Linked DNA regions of Homo sapiens: region 1 is linked to region 2. The links are contacts of gene promoters, found by promoter capture Hi-C in human tissues and cell types (Jung and others, 2019). All regions are on one chromosome and are shown on one strand. The core of a region is centred on a gene start or on the middle of the fragment in contact, and the rest is flanking DNA. Distances in the headings are between cores, read along the strand shown. Region 1 overlaps PSEN1 (presenilin 1). Region 2 holds the start of PAPLN (papilin, proteoglycan like sulfated glycoprotein).

Region 1 (4,621 bases), core at 502-3,001, 45 kb before region 2:
TAATAAATAGATTGTTTTTGTTTTTGTTTTTTAGTTTGAGGATACTGGAAATGCTTAATATAAATATCTACATCGTCCAGAAATTTCAATGTTTACTCTATTTTGGAATTTCAAAGTGGGAGAGGAATCATCTTTTTGGATGGTACCTGAAACTGAAAGTTTATGCCTAAAGGCGTGCTTGCTTTCTCCTCAGTTACCTCAGGCATCTTCTACAGTTGCAATCTCTTTGTTGTTAGATGGTGGATTTTGCCTCCCCAGAATTAAAATAGCATTTTCTTCATTATAAAAATACTTAACATTCATTGTTTTTTTAAAAAAGACATTATATAAGATTATAAAGAAGAAAAATGACCAGATTCCCACCACCTAAAGATAAGTCCTGTCATCCTTTCAGGAATTAATATATCAATTTCTCATCTACTCTTCTCTCACACTACTTTGCATAAATGGGATCATAAATGGGATCCTATATTTTTTCAAGCAACAGTGTGTTATGCCTATACTCCATGTTTATATGTGTGTATTAAAAAATGTATTTGTATATATGTGTATGTATAAGTGTGTGTGTGTGTATGATGATTCTTCTCCCGCTTTGAAGGTGAAAGAAAGCACACCTTTATTTAAGCATAAACTTTGGGTTTCAGATACTGTCTGGAAAAATGATTTATCTCCCACTTTGAAATTCCAAAATACGTACATATATTTTTTTTTTCTTTTCTTTTTTAGTTTTAGGGTCTTGCTGTGTTGCCCAGGCTGGAGTGCAGTAGTGTGATCATAGCTCACACAGCCTCTAACTCCCAGGCTCAAGCTATCTTCCTGCCCCAGCCTCCTGAGTAGCTGGGACTGCAGGCATGTGCCATCAACTTTAGCTAATTTTAAAATTTTTTTGTAGTGATAGAGTCTCACTGTGTTGCCCAGGCTCGTCTGGAATTCCTGGCCTCAAGTGATCCTCTCACCTCAGCCTCCCAAATTGCTGGGATTAGAGTGTGAGCCACTGTGCCTAGCCTGCATATATCTATTTTTAATGACTGCTAAATCTCATTGTATGAAAATTTATGTCCTAGCTATAAAATTTGTTAGCACATGTTTAATTTTTTCTAATTTCAGATGTTTTAAACTAATATTTCCCAAAGTATAGTATGGCATTTTAGGTATGATATGATCTTTTTTCCTCTTCGTACTCATTTTTATAGTTATGGCCTGTGCAACTGGTTTCCCATTTATATGAATGATACAGAGCTTCCTATTAAGAAAAAGTTCAGCTTGGGAAAAAAAAAGTGAATTGTTCAACTTGAGGGAAAAAAGTGAATTAATTGGCCAGGCACCGTGGCTCATGCTTGTAATCCCAGCACTTTGGGAGGCTGAGACGGGTGGATTGCTTGAACCCAGGAGTTTTAGACCAACCTGGGCAACATGTTGAAACCCTATCTGTACAAAAAAAATTAGAAAAATTAGCTGGGCATAGTGGCACACACCTGTTGTCCCAGCTACTTAGGAGGCTGAGCTGGGAAGACCACCTGATCTCCGGAGGTAAAGACTGCAGTGAGCCGTGATTGCACCACTTTACTCCAGCCTGGGCAACAAAATGAGACCCTGGCTCAAAAACAAAAACAAAAACAAAAAAAGAGTAAATTAATTTAAAGGGAAGTATTAAATAAATAATAGCACAGTTGATATAGGTTATGGTAAAATTATAAAGGTGGGATATTAATATCTAATGTTTGGGAGCCATCACATTATTCTAAATAATGTTTTGGTGAAAATTATTGTACATCTTTTAAAATCTGTGTAATTTTTTTTCAGGGAAGTGTTTAAAACCTATAACGTTGCTGTGGACTACATTACTGTTGCACTCCTGATCTGGAATTTTGGTGTGGTGGGAATGATTTCCATTCACTGGAAAGGTCCACTTCGACTCCAGCAGGCATATCTCATTATGATTAGTGCCCTCATGGCCCTGGTGTTTATCAAGTACCTCCCTGAATGGACTGCGTGGCTCATCTTGGCTGTGATTTCAGTATATGGTAAAACCCAAGACTGATAATTTGTTTGTCACAGGAATGCCCCACTGGAGTGTTTTCTTTCCTCATCTCTTTATCTTGATTTAGAGAAAATGGTAACGTGTACATCCCATAACTCTTCAGTAAATCATTAATTAGCTATAGTAACTTTTTCATTTGAAGATTTCGGCTGGGCATGGTAGCTCATGCCTGTAATCTTAGCACTTTGGGAGGCTGAGGCGGGCAGATCACCTAAGCCCAGAGTTCAAGACCAGCCTGGGCAACATGGCAAAACCTCGTATCTACAGAAAATACAAAAATTAGCCGGGCATGGTGGTGCACACCTGTAGTTCCAGCTACTTAGGAGGCTGAGGTGGGAGGATCGATTGAGCCCAGGAGGTCAAGGCTGCAGTGAGCCATGATTGCATCACTGTATTCCAGCCTGGGTGATAGAACAAGACCTTGTCTCAAAAAAAATTTGGTTTTTCAAGCTTTTTGAGGTTTTGACAAGCTGGCCAATATGGTGAAACCCCGTCTCTACTAAAAATACAAAAATTAGCTGGGTGTGGTGGCGTACCCTTGTATTCCCAGCTACTTGAGAGGCTGAGGCAGGAGAATTATTTGAACCCAGGAAGTGAAGTGGAGGTTGCAGTGAGCCGAGATGGTGCCACTGCACTCTAGCCTGGGTGACAGAGCGAGACTCTGTCTCAAAAAAAAAAAAAAAGCAAAAAAAAAAAAGCACAAGCAGAGTGGTAGACACACAAAATGCTCAATTCATTTTTTAAACGATTTTTTTCCTTTATATCTTACTGCAGAAGCTTTTTTCTTTTTTTTGAGACAAAGTCTTGCTGTGTCACCCAGGCTGGGGTGCAGTGGCACAGTCATAGCTCACTGCAACCTTGAACTCCCTGGCTCATGCGATCCTCCCACTTCAGCCTCTCAAGTAGCTAGAACTACAGGTGTGCACCACCATGCCTGACTAACTTGTTTATTTTTTGTAGAGAGAACGTCTTGCTATATTGCCTAGGCTGGTCTTGAACTCTTGGGCTCAAGCAATCCTCCTACCTTGGCCTCTCAAGGTATTGGGATTATAGGTGTGAGCCACTGCATCTGGCCTCAATTCACTTTTAAAATCAAAATTAGGTTACCTACTTTTTATAAGGTAATGTATAGAATTATTCTTTTAAAAATAAAACCGATTTGGACAGTGTGAGATTCACATTCTGTAACCACCAGTGTGACATGGGTCCTGAACAGTTAGAACATACTCCAGCCATTAACCCAGGCAGCTTTCAGGTACGTACTCTGTGGCTGTTGCCTTGTATGAAAGCCAAAAAGAGATCCATTTTCAGAGATTAATATGTGACCCCTTCTATATTATAAGGCCATGGCCATACTCTTTTTTTTTTCTTTTTGTTTTTTTCTTCCAAAGACAGGATCTCTCTCTGTCATCCACGCTAGAGTACAGTGGCATGAACGTGGCTTACTGCAGCCTCAAACCCTTGTCCTGGGCTCAAACAATCCTCCCACCTCAGCCTTCAAAGTAGATAGAACTACAGGCATGCACTACCATGCCTAATTTTTTAAAAAAAAATTTTTTTTCAGAGATGAGATCTCACTGTGTTTCCCAGGCTTGTCCGGAACTCCTGGCCTCAAGCGATCCTCCCACCTTGGCCTGCCAAAGTGTTGGGATTACAGGCATGAGCCACCATGCCTGGCCATACACTTTTTTTTTTTTTTTTTTTCAAGACGGAGTCTGGCTCTGTCGCCCAGACTGGAGTGCAGTGGCGTGATCTTGGCTCACTGCAAGCTTCGCCTCCCAGGTTCATGCCGTTCTCCTGCCTCAGCCTCCCAAGTAGCTGGGACTACAGGCATCTGCCACCACGCCCGGCTATTTTTTTGTATTTGTAGTAGAGACGGGGTTTCACCATGTTAGCCAGGATGATCTCGATCTCCTGACCTCATGATTCACCTGCCTCGGCCTCCCAAAGTGTTGGGATTACAGGCATGAGCCACCGTGCCCGGCCTGGCCATACACTTTTGTCATTATTTACATACTTACTAAAATGTTTGGTGGCCTGTAATAGGAAACATCATCCTCATTTGATTGACGAAGAAGTCTGTGGAAATAGGATTGAACTGGTTCTGTTCTTGTATTTGAGTAATCAGTTGTGGAACTATAGAAGTCATATACTCTCTCTGACTTTCATAATTACCTTATGTTGTATAGTACTTGATGGTTTGCAAAGTAACCATCTATTCTTGCTTAGCTGTGAGTAAGAATGCCAGGTCTGGAGACAGAATGTCTGGGTTCAAATTCTACTCATCACTTTTTATTTTTATTTTTTTTGAGATAGAGTCTCGCTTTGTTGCCCAGGCTGGAGTGCAGTGGCGTGATCTCAGCTCACTACAACCTCTCCCTCCCGGGATCAAGCGATTCTCCTGCCTCAGCCTTCCGAGTAGCTGGGACTACAAGTGCGCACCACCACGCCCAGCTAATTTTTGTATTTTTAGTAGAGACGAGGTTTTGCCATGTTGGCCAGGCTGGTCTCAAACTCCTGACCTCAAGTGATCTGCCTGCCTCAGCCTCCCAGAGTGCTGGGATTACAGGCTTGAACCAC
Region 2 (5,245 bases), core at 1,779-4,278:
GCCTCAGCCTTCCAAGTAGCTTGGCCAGTGGTACCCGACCTTTTTGGCACCAGGGACCAGTTTTATGGAAGAGAATTTTTTCAGGTCTGGGAGCGGGGTGGGATGGTTTCGGGAAGAAACTGTTCCAGTCTAAAGCCTGATCCTGTTCAGATCATCAGGCATCAGAGTCTCCTAAGGAATGCACACCCTAGGTCCCTTGCATGAGTAGTTCACAACAGGGTTCATGCTCCCGTGGGAATCTAATGCTGCCACTGACCTGACAGGTGGCGGGGCTCAGGCAGTAATGCTTGCTCACCTCCTGCTGTGTGCCCGTTCCTAACAGGCCATGGACAGGTACCGGTCCGTGGCCTGGGGATTGAGGACCCCTATCTTGGACTGCAGGCAACTGCCACCATACCTGGCTAATTAAAAAAAAAATTGTAGAGATGGAGGGTCTCACTGTGTTGCCCTGGCTAGTTTTGAACTCCTAGACTTAAGCAATCCTCCCTCCTCAGCCTCTCAAAGTATTGGGACTCCAGGCATGAGCCACTGCGCCCAGATCAGAACTAACTTTTATTCTGCATCTAGTAGGAATTTTATGGAAACCAGTTACTTCCCTACTCTACCACCTGCTGTATGAGTCTCAAGTGAGCAAGTTGTGGCTTAAGGAGGTGACCCGACCTGCCCAAGTACACACACAGTGAGAAGCAGAGCAGCCTTCCAGTCCAGGTCTGCCTCCGCCCCAGGCTACCCCAAACCCCCAATGCGAGGGCGTCTCAGGTGCAGACACTGAGTGGCATAGAGCCAGCACAGAGGGGACTTGACAATAGGAAGGAAGGTCTTACACTTTTTCCTGGAATCTTCTTTCTAAACCACCCTATTTTAATGCATCAGTTCTGTTCACATCTCTGTGAGGTAAGCAGAGGAGAAATGAGGCTTAAAGAGAATATTCCTGCCCAAGCCAGTAATTGCTAGGGCCTGGCTGGTGGGTCTAAGACAGTCCCTTACCACTGAGTGTGGGTTCTGCCTCCCAACCTCAGAGTCCTCTTTGCAGCTGGCGTGAGGCATAAGAAATCACAGCCCTGGGTGTCTGAGAAGAAAGGATCATAGGAAAAGCAGGGACACAGCAGGAAAGTGAGCTCCTTGGGCCTCAGCTTCCCCCACCCTGCAGCGGGAGAAGCATTTTCCTCCCACTTAACAGAGGACCTTTGACCAAGCTCAGAAAAGTCCCAGCTGGTGGGGGCAGGGAGTGGGGCTTGTTGAATGGAAGAAGCGCTTTTCCTCTTTAGAGAGGCTGCATGATTCCACTCCCCTTTCTCTGCCAAGCTTTATCTTTGCTTAAGAATTCACACAACTCCCCAGGGGCCCCGCTACAGCTGCTGCTCCTCCTGTCTTCATTGATAGGTAAGAAATGCACCTGATTTAAACTGATTTAAACTGGCCATGTTCTAATAAGCATTTTGTCCAAACAGGCAGCTGCTGGAGCCAGGGGGCTGAAGTGGGGCTGAGCTTCCCGCTGGTGACTTCTCTTTGCCCAAATGAGGCCAAGGGAGAAGTGGCAGGGCCAGCAAGGGGCTAAAGGCAGAACAGCGTGGGGGAAGGGGACCAGCCTTTGCCACCACCCCACCCCCAACCTCTCCCCAACTTCTTCCCCCCAACCTCCCTCGTGTCCAGGACCAGTTTCTAAAGATGAGTGAATTCCAGTTTCAAAAAAAGAATGGTAGGCAAAGAGTGTCTTGGTTGTGAAAAAGGACAACCAGGAAAACAAATGAAGTTGATCACATGCGTTGAGCCCCTGCCTTGATGCTAATTAGTGCCCTGGCACAGGTGGTGGGGCTGCATTGCAGGCCCTGCCCCCCGGGACTCACAGCTGAGCAAATCACAGCAACAGGGACAGAAACCGAGGGAGCAGGACATGCACCCCATCGGCCTGGGGTGGTGTGGAGACGGCTTCAAAAGCAGGTGACATGCTGGGCACGGTGGCACTTTGGCAGGCCACGGTGGGAAGATTGCTTGAGCTCAGGAGTTCGAGACCAGGTTGGGCGAGACCTTGTTTCTATTTAAAAAAAGAAGAAGAAGGCTGGGCGCAGTGGCTCACGTCTGTAATCCCAGCACTTTGGGAGTCCGAGGTGGGTGGATCACCTGAAGTCAGGAGTTGGAGACCAGTCTGGCCAACAAGGTGAAAACCTGTCTCTACTAAAAATACAAAAATTAGCCAGGCATCATACAGACGCCTGTAATCCCAGCTACTAGGGAGGCTGAGGCTGGAGAATCGCTTGAACCCAGGAGGCGGAGGTTGCAGTGAGCCAAGATCTAGCCATTGCTCTCTACCCTGGGCAACAAGAGTGAAACTCCGTCTAAAAAAAAAAAAAAGAAAAGGAGGGAGGAAAGTAGAAAGAAAGAAAAGAAAGAGGAAGAAAGGGAGGGAGGAAAGTAGAAAGAAAGAAAAGAGGAAGGGAGGGAGGGAAAGAAAGAAGAAAGTGAGGGAGGAAAGTAGAAAGAAAGAAAAGAGGAAGGGAGGGAGGGAAAGAAAGAAGAAAGGAAGGAAAGTGACATTTGACCAAGGTTTTGAGGGCTGACTACGGGTTTGAGAGGTAGAGGGGATTGGGAGAGCGCATTCTGAGTGAGAAAACGTGCTGGGAGATGGGTAACAGCAGCGTGTGCGGAGAAACTCAGTTGCGGCTGAAGAATAGGATCCAGGGGTGGAGAAGGTGGTGGCTGGACACAGGTGTGTTGTGTGTAGGATAGGCATGAAGAGGAGCGGATAGGGCAAAGCTAGAAGGCTTGGGCAAGGGGAAATGGGATTGGAGAGGTGACTGGCGCTGACCCAAGAGAGGACAGACGGGGTGACCAGAGTGGAGGATGAGCCAAGCCTTGGCACAGACCCAAGCGGGTGGAGGCCCCGGGCAACACCGGTCACCACGAGGGCCTCTACGAAGGGCTCTGTCCTCCCACGGGGATTGGAGGTGGGTAAGTGAGACAGGGCGGGGTGGAGGGTGAGGCCAGGCAGCGGCGGAGAGAGAAAGTCCCACCCCTGCGGGCGTTCCTTGCGGCCCGGCCGACCTCGCGGGCTTGGGCCTGGGCGGGCACCGACGGAGCGGCCCTGGCTGCAGCCTCCCGGCGCCAGCGAAGACAGGTAGGGAGGCGGAGGGACTGGAAGCCCCCGGGCGCCCAGCGGCGGGGACCCCGCACCCCGGGGCTTCTGCAGGAATTTGCTCGCCTGGCTCACGGCGACGGGGGTGTCGGAGAAAGTGGGGGCCGCAGAGAAGACCCCGCCCCGGCTCGCTCTCCGGAGGTGGGCGCAGGGTCATCGCTCGGCACCGCGCGCCCCCCGGCCTGGAGGAAAGGAAATGCAGAGAGCCGGGGAGCTGGTGCGGGACGGCCCCGGCGCGCACCCTCCGCCCGCTCGGACCTTCCCTTCAGGCGAATGCCGCTCCCGGCGCGTGGTACAAGCGAGGCCCTGGAGACCGTGCGCCCCTCCCGGGAGGTGCCACTGGGCCGCGGGCCTGGAGCGTCCGGGAGCCCCAGCGGCTGCCGGCACCTGCGCGGCCACCCCGGGCCTCCCGTGGGAACCGCGCCTCTCCGCCTCGGGGGTGCGCGGCGCGTTCCTGGGGTGGGGACGCGGGGTGCCTGGTCAGGGCTGGACCGATGCAGAGGGGGGCCGTGGGCGGGGGCCACGGGGACGGGCGTCTGCGGACTGCGGCGGTCCCGGAGTCGGCTGGGGACCCTGTAGGGGGAGGCTTGGTCGGCGGCCACCCGCCTTCCCGCCCTCTGGCGCCTAGGGTCGCCGCCTTCGGCCCTAGCTCAAGGCAGACGCGTTCCCCGGGAACAACACGTTGAGGGCGCCCACCCTGCGTGCCCGGGGCCACCCGGTCCCTGCCCTCGGGCGGCAGGAGAGGTCGAGCTTCCACGGCCCTCGGAGTAGCCCCGTGACCAGACCCGGACTGGCCTTGGAGTTGAAGGGGTTGTTTGCCACCAAATGAACCGAAAAAACTGAACTTTTCAGACTTCGGAATGGCAGATATGGGCTTGGAGTTCAGTGAAATTGCAGCGGAGGCGGTGGTGTTCTGAGTAATTACAAGTAAAATTCTTCTTTCACCCGTCTTTTCCTCAGCCTCGCCCGCCCTAGCAGGCCTAGCCTGGCCCTAGCAGGGGGCTCCTGCTCTGGGAGCTGCCCCCAGCAGAGCAGAGGCAGGGCTCTGGCAGCAACCCCCTTCCCTCACCCTCCAACCCCAGGAATCTCGAACTTGACCACGAAAATAATGACTCAATGACTCACTGTGCCAAATTAACGAGTGTGTACATTGTTCAGTATGCCAGGTTACATTTCTGCTGAGCTTGGCTTCTGTATGCTGTCTTTTATCCTTGTAAGCAGAAGTCATTTTATATCTTTAAAAAATTAGAACATTGGTAGAATTACAGATTTTAAAGTTCAAACCTGCACGCTAGTACTTGTTTAATGTTTTGTACTGAAGGGCGCACATTGTTTATGTCATTCTGCGATACAGCGACATGTATGTACACATACACACTGCACAGCGTGTATACCGACTGGACACCTGCACCAAATAGTACACACCAGACTGCACATGGACCCGCCCCGCACACTGCACATGCACTTTGCATGCATGCACACATCAAACCACAGACACTCCACACACACTGCACTGCACACTGCCCTGAGCACACTACACTGTACTGCACACTGCACTGCACTTTCAGGGCTCACACGCTGCACCACGCACACTGCACGGCGCACACTGCACTGCATACACACGTTGGTTATGGAGGCTGCTTATGGAGCTTCCCTGTGCAGAGAAATGCTGGCTTGGGTTTTAAATGGGCTACAATTAACACTTTTAGAGCATTTGGGTTTTCAAAGTGTCTTCAGAGACTTGATTTTTTTAAAGCCTATATTAGGAGTTTTTAAACATCTGATGTAATAGCTTTTTTAAAAGGAATCTTGCTGAATTAAAAGTGAGTCTAATTACTCGGATTCTGAACTTGTTTTTCAACCACATAGAAGTATTTTTAATTGCTCTCTCTTTTTTTCCCCTCTGGAACTCTGAAACAAGTTGTTCTTGAACTTCTGCCAGTTGCGGATGGGCCATTCCTTTCTTGCTCACATGTTGAGCCGCCCGGCGGGGCGCCCTCACGCTGTGTTCTCTGCGGTGCACCGAGGCGCACCCGGCTGTCCTGTTGCGGGTCTCCTGGTCACCTGTGGGCCATAGGGAGAGACGCGCCCACACACTCTCGCCCGCGCCCA

What was found. Contacts are between HindIII fragments. The study calls those that stand out against the background at their distance.
Region 1: a contact is called between a fragment that was not itself captured here and the fragment with the promoter of PAPLN in region 2, in 1 of the 25 tissues and cell types used here (mesenchymal stem cells).

What each region holds. Positions count from the first base shown.
Region 1 is chr14:73,190,841-73,195,461 of GRCh38, forward strand. PSEN1 (presenilin 1) reads left to right here. Exons shown (of 12, transcript NM_000021.4): 7 at 1,804-2,024. Among named protein-coding and RNA genes, the nearest start is that of PAPLN, 44 kb to the right of the region's middle. The HindIII fragment of the contact is 3,125 bases long and covers 190-3,314 here.
Region 2 is chr14:73,234,478-73,239,722 of GRCh38, forward strand. It overlaps PAPLN (papilin, proteoglycan like sulfated glycoprotein), which reads left to right and starts at 3,029. Exons shown (of 27, transcript NM_001365906.3): 1 at 3,029-3,115. RefSeq lists enhancers at 1,302-1,874, 1,875-2,446, 3,020-3,590 and a silencer at 1,664-1,958. The HindIII fragment of the contact is 14,518 bases long and covers 38-5,245 here.